Linked DNA regions of Homo sapiens: region 2 is linked to region 1. Evidence: promoter capture Hi-C in 16 types of primary human blood cells and fetal thymus (Javierre and others, 2016). All regions are on one chromosome and are shown on one strand. Each heading gives the region's core, a stretch centred on a gene start or on the middle of the fragment in contact. The rest is flanking DNA. Distances are from core to core; before and after follow the strand shown. Region 1 holds the start of NKX2-4 (NK2 homeobox 4). Region 2 has its middle 2.2 kb from the start of INSM1.

The links. The method cuts DNA at HindIII sites, captures the fragments that hold promoters and counts their contacts. A CHiCAGO score of 5 or more calls a contact.
Region 2: a fragment that was not itself captured here is called in contact with the fragment with the promoter of NKX2-4 in region 1 in 1 of 17 cell types (total B cells); the score reaches 6.6 in total B cells.

What each region holds. Positions count from the first base shown.
Region 1 is chr20:21,395,979-21,399,000 of GRCh38, forward strand. NKX2-4 (NK2 homeobox 4) reads right to left here and starts at 1,548. Exons shown (of 2, transcript NM_033176.2): 1 at 980-1,548; 2 at 1-555. The coding sequence starts at 1,421. LOC105372558 (a long non-coding RNA gene) reads left to right here and starts at 1,956. Exons shown (of 4, transcript XR_001754528.1): 1 at 1,956-2,598. The HindIII fragment of the contact is 6,496 bases long and covers 1-3,022 here.
Region 2 is chr20:20,364,316-20,367,544 of GRCh38, forward strand. No RefSeq gene overlaps it. Among named protein-coding and RNA genes, the nearest start is that of INSM1, 2.2 kb to the right of the region's middle. RefSeq lists an enhancer at 2,882-3,229. The HindIII fragment of the contact is 1,532 bases long and covers 599-2,130 here.

The sequences.
Region 1 (3,022 bases), core at 298-2,797:
CCAGGGCCGCCAGGCCGCCCCCCGGGCCGTGCAGCGCGGGTGGGCTGGGCGACAGCTCCTCCAGCTCAGGTGCTGGCGTCGGGGCCGGCGGCTGCGGACCGGCCTGGCCGGGGGTGGGCGTGCTGGCGCCGTTCTGGCACGGCTTGCCGTCCTTGACCAGCACAGGCACCGCCACGCGGCGCGGGGACGGCGGCGGAGGCGGCGGCGGGCCCAGGCCGCCCTCCTGCTGCAGCTGCTGCGCCGCCTTGTCCTTGGCCTGCCGTTTCATCTTGTACCGGTGGTTCTGGAACCAGATCTTGACCTGCGTGGGCGTCAGGTGGATCATGCTGGCCAGGTGCTCGCGCTCGGGCGCCGACAGGTACTTCTGCTGCTTGAAGCGCCGCTCCAGCTCGTAGACCTGCGCCTGCGAGAAGAGCACGCGGCGCTTCCTTCGCGGAGCGGCTGCCGCCGCCGCCGCGTGCAGCGGGCCCAGCGACTTGGCGGCGTCCGCGATGCCGGTCAGCGACCCCATGCCGGCCACATTCACGCCCGCCGACGGCCCCATGAACCTGGAGACTGGGGAAGAGTCCCAAGGGGGAAGGCGAGTGAGCTCCAGGCCCGCCGGGAGCCGGTCCAGCCGCCGCTCTCTTCACGCCGCGGCCGCGACGCCGCCGGGCCCTCGCTGAATCCCAAGACCCCCTGACCGCCGCGGCCTCCGGCCCCAGCACGCCCCGCGCGCCCTCGGCGGGTCCCAGAGCACCACGCCCTCAACGGGTCCCAGGACGCCGCGCGCGTTCCCGGTCAGGTCCCAGGACCCCCCGCGCGCCCAGGGTCCCCAGAAACCCCGCGCGTCCCGGGCCGCGTCCCAGGACGCCCCGCGCGCCCGCTCGGCCCCAGGACCTCCTAAGCCGCGCGCACCCCGTCCCGCGCCCCCGCGCCCCTCGGCTGTGGCGGGAAACGCCTGAGCCGCCCGCAGCCCCGCGCTCCTGGCCCCTCTCACTTGACGAGTAGCGTGGGTCCGGGTTGGCGCCGTACCAGCCGGTGGCCGCGCCGCCCCGCATGCCGTCCGTGTAGGCGGGCAGCTCGCCCATGTTGCCCAGGCCGCCGTTGCAGTAGCTGCCCATGGCGCCGTGCGGGAACTGCGAGACGCCGGGCGGCATGTGGTAGGTGGCGGCCGCCGCCGCCGCAGCTGCTGCCGCCGCCGCCGCGGCCGCCGCGTTGTGACCCGCCATGGCGTGAGAAGGCTGCATGCCCGCCACGGTCGCCGCCTGCGAGGAGGGCCCAGGTGGCGGCGCGCGGTAGGCGGCCGCGGCCCCCAGGGGCGCCCCCAGGCCGGGTGGCGCGCCGTCCATGGCGCCGCTGAACTTCTTGTAGGTCTCCTCGATGGGGCTCAGGATGTCGGACACGGAGAAGGGCGTCGTGTGCTTTGGGCTCAACGACATGGCTCGGCGGGCAGCCAGGTAGGGGGGCCTGGGGCGCGCGCCGGCAGGACGCGGCGGCCGCTCGTCGCCGCCACCTCGGCCGCGGCAGCTGAGCCTGTGACGAGGAGTCGGCGGCTCGGCGAGCCCCCCGGGCTGCGGGATCTGGGGTTTATTTTAGTCCGGCGCCAGGTTTACGACAGACTCGGGGGGCGGAGCAACATCCCAAACGAGCAAACAATGGTCATTGACATCTTTTTCTCTCGCCCCCCCAACCCCCGCCCCATAATGGAGGCAAAAAAAGGTAAAAGGGGCAGTTGGGTGTTTCTTGGAAAGATCACTCCCCGTTGCTTTTCCCATCTTTGCTTTTCCCATCCTTTGCTTTTCCCATCCTTCGCTCCTCCATCCGCGGCCGTTACCCCAGCCCTCGAGCACCAGAAATAGAAACTCGGAGGCTGGCGTCGAGGCTAGACATGGACTCCGCGCCTGGCCCCTTCCAGATCCCAGTTTTCTAAAGTGACTTCGCACCAAAGTCCGGTATAATTGCGGAATGGGGAACGTGCTGCTAAGTTTGGGGGGAGGGTGTTGCGGGGGCTTGCTTCGTCCTCTCCAGTTATCAGCCCCTCATTCGCTCCATCACCTAAAGTGTTAAAAAAAAAAAAAAAGGCTCTTGGGTCCCACCGTAAGAGCGCATAAAGAGAGGAGGTACAATGACCGTCCTTTGCCATTGTAGGGCTCCCTAATTTATGCGTTTTTAGACCCTTAAGCATCATTTTGTGGGCAACCAAACGGGCACTTCCAAATTAGCTCAAAGTATCCAAGCCCAGAGAAGAGAGAAAACACACATACACTGATAAATACGCAGATGCTAACTTGTAAGTATTCTGTTTTTCCTCTGTGGGGATGGAAATTGAACAAGGGAAAGAGGGGGAACATTTTTATTTCCTAAAATGTTTCCTACTGAGTTTGCACTTGTAAAGTTTTTTCTGCTTTCTTTCCCTTTGTGTGTGTTCTTACTCTCTTTCTCTCAGTAAATATCTCTGACTTAAGTTTATTCTCCCATCACTACCGTGATCAAAAAGAAGAGAAAGACAAAATATCAAAACTTCCAAATATTTCTAGTTGTTCGCAACGGGTCTTTTTGTTGTTGTTGGAAAAATATAACCTGTTCAAGCGATATGAAAATGGATGCAGAAATCAGGTGAAAATTGTAGTTTCTTTGGAAAAATACAAAACCATAGATAAACAGATTTTTAAAACTTTGTCATCCTTTGACTTGCAGTTTTACCCGAATACTTAGACATTATGAACTCTCTACTAAATACTGAACAAGACAAAGCATAAGACAAAAGCAGTGTGCAAAGCATATTGATTAAATTTTGAAAACAATCTTGCAGCAATAATAATGATAACGAGAAAACAAAGATAACACTTTTAAGTTTTCCTGGAAACTGGAGCAGGAGAAAGAAAAACAAGGAGAGTGCTTTCTTAAGCAATATTTTGTTTTATTTTTTTTCCAGAAAAGGGTGTGTGGAATCGATTTAAGTTTAACCTGACAGTACATGTCTTGAAGGCAAGAACAGTGTTACATATTCCTTTTTCTGTTTGGTTTTAGCCCTTTGGTG
Region 2 (3,229 bases), core at 115-2,614, 1.0 Mb before region 1:
GCACGACGCAGCCTCGCGGATCGTCCCTTGTTCGCTCTCTTTCATGCACTCTCCTTTTGTGTGGAATTATCTAAACGGGAGATCCCTGGCAGCTTTATGCTAATGCGCCGAACAAAGGCAACGGCCCGCGGGCGGGAGGCCCGGAAGGTGCCTGGGGCCGGGCCGGGCGGGGTGGCGGCCAGGCGGGCTGCGCGTGTCTCTCGCGTGCCCCTGGGACTGACACAACAACCCCTCATTCCTGCAAATACAAAGCCTCTCACCGGCTCGGGTCGGGCGCACCCGGCGCAGGGAGGCGCTGGTCCCTCCGGGCGGCGGGCACTGCAGCGGTAACGCACGGTTCCTGCCGGTTGTGGCTCGGGGGACTGAGGGCCGGGAGTGGGGGCTTCTGTGAAGCCAGAAGAGAAGTCTGCAGCAGAGTGGTGATGAGGGGCGCTGACACCTCACCCCCAACGCCGACGTCTCCAAACGCGATACCCTCTGCGGGGTGAGAATGCGGGCCCGCCCGGCTCCTCCCGTGAGGCCAGGGCCTCCTGTTCTCCTAGACACCCCAAGGAGCCAACTCCTCCGCAGAAGTTCCCCGCTTCTGCTCTTATTTCCAAGCTTCGCGCTTTCTACAAACTCCCTGTTGCCTTGACTTTGATTTCCAGCCGTGGTGAGGGTCAGAGTGAACCCCGGCGCGCTCCCCGACGGCATCCCCGCACACCAGGATAGGAGAAATTGGAGGGCCTGGGGCCTCGGGCTCCGCAGTCGTCGGAGGAAGAACCCACCGCGGGGTCCGCAAGGGAAAGTGAAGAGGCCCGGGATTTTTCCAAAGCGCTGGCCAGGACCCCGAAGGAAGGGGAGGAGTCACCTGAAGCCGGGGAAGGCCCCTTGGGTGCTCTGCCTTGGATCCTTATGTTCACTGACTTTCGCGAAGCCCCCCTGGAGGGGGGCAAATCCGCGCTGTTTCCCCCAACTTAACTTCACGCGGCCCATTCTCCGAATCGCGTGCGCCAAGGCCGGCGTCGGGGGCGCACTGTGATGGCGCTTTGCTCTTCCCAGGCGAAGACAAATATCTCGACCCGATGTCCCCATGCATGCGGGTGCACAGGTTCTGAGAAAATCACGCAGAAGGCGGCTGCGATCCACGGCCCGGGCTGGGCTACACCTGCTTGGAGGTCGCTGGTGTGTGCGTGCGCGCGTGCGCAGCCTAACTCCTTCCAGCCCCGGGTGGTGAAATTAGTTTCCAATACTAGTACCTTTCAAGTTTCCATTTATTTTGACTGTACCCGTCTGAAAGCAGATTTCATTTACGCTAGCAAGACTGGAAGCCACAAATAAAGAAAAAGAAACGGATTCATTGAATCTCAGTATCTCAGTAGCGTTTAATAGATTCCCTTGGCTAAATTCAGAGCCCTGTTTGAATTCACTCACGCAGGAGTTGTTTTGTTTTTTTTGTTGGTAGAGGTGCCGGTTTCCCATCCCCACGGCTTATTTACAATTATGGGTGTTGTTATTTTTAAAGGATTCACAAGGTGACTAACTCTCTGTTATCTGTTGAATGGAAGGAGTGTTACATATGCAAGACCGAATGGGGCAGGCCGAGCCCCCGCCCTATGCTATTCTACAATCCAGATGGGATTCGTGATTAGAAAATAAAATTGGCCAAAGCTGTCTCGGAATCCTTTTCCCACTTCTAATTTCATCAGCACTATTAATCAGAGCTCAAAAGAGCAAGGAAATAACATCAGTTACTTTTAGATAGAAATATGTTTATAAATTTTAGATAAACTCATTTTAAGATTTCTAACTTTTGGGGAGACTAGCACTCACCACAGCATTTTTAAAACTAGGGTGAGACTTTTCAAAATATATTTCACTATATGCATTCTTCCCTTTTCAGTGTGTGAGTTAAAATATTACAAACATAAAATTATCAAATATCTTTCCCTTGATTAACCAACCTGATTAACCCCTTAATTAATTAAGCCTAACAACTGTCCCCATCACAACTTATGACTCATGTGGACTCTATTTTTACATGTTTAATTTCTACGCCAGGGTATTTTCAGAGGGAAAATCCAAAACAATTAAATACCTTCAGTGGAATTAAGCGTAAGTAAAACTCAGCAAAATCTGTCTGGTATACAAAGCTTTGCAGAAAAATGTTTCCTTCTCTTTCAATAAAGTGACATTTTCCTCACAGCATATGACATTTTATGTGGCTTGGCTATTTGTTCCCCAGTGTTGGACGATCAGGGCCACTACGCACTCGTGGGGTTCTCTGCCCTGTCCCCCGAAGATTCTGCCTTTTGTGTTTCCTCGGGGCTGGGCTGGACAGAGGATGGAGGCAGGCGGCCCAGTCTGGGTCCAAACGGAACGGCAGCGGAGGTGGGGGTGGGGGTGGGGGCGGGGGGAATCTTCGCTGTTGTCTCTTCCTGGTGGCACAGGGGAGGCGGCTTGTCCTCTCGGAGGCCTCAGCCTGCCTCAGAGTACAGATTGCCCCCCCTCCCCCCGTCCAGCACGCGTCTCTTTTGCGTCCAGATTGGCCGCGACCGGAGCTCAATAGCAGGAGGTTAATTTCCTTCACAAAGGTGAAGGGGGCACGGCTCCGTGGGGGCTGCGCCCAGACAGGCAGCCCCTTTATTTCGCAGCGCCTTGATTGGAGCCCTTGATTTAGCATCTGATGTCAACCGGCAAACAAAATGCCCGCTCGGAATGAAAATGCATGAGGCCGCGCGGGGAGGAGAAAGCCAACTTCACTGGGGCGCACGAGGCCGACCGCGCGTTTCGGGCTTCGGCCAACTCGACCCGGATTAACCGAGCCTTGGACCACGCGGAAGCTCCGGGCGGCCTGGGTCGGGCCCCGCCAAAGATGCCATTCCCAAGCCTCCAAGAACCCAAAAGTTCAGAAATTCACGTTCCTCTGGGAACCCAGCCCAGCCCGCCCGCGCTCCAATCCCGCGCTTTCGGGAGACTGAGAAGGCCGTGCCAATTCCTTCTCAAACTCGAAAGAAACCTTCTCTAGCCCCGTGGGCGCGCGGAGGCTGCGAGCACAAACATCGCCCTCGGCCACTGCCAGAAGGCCGGGCCCCCTGTCCACACTTGGAACCCCGGGGAACCCTTTTGCTTGGCCTCTTGGGTCCAGCGGCCCATCCGTCCAAGGTCCGGGCGGAGGCCGTCCGGACCCTGCTGCTCTCTCGGATTCTTGTTTATTTCCCAAACACCACGCGGAGCCACTGCGCCTCCG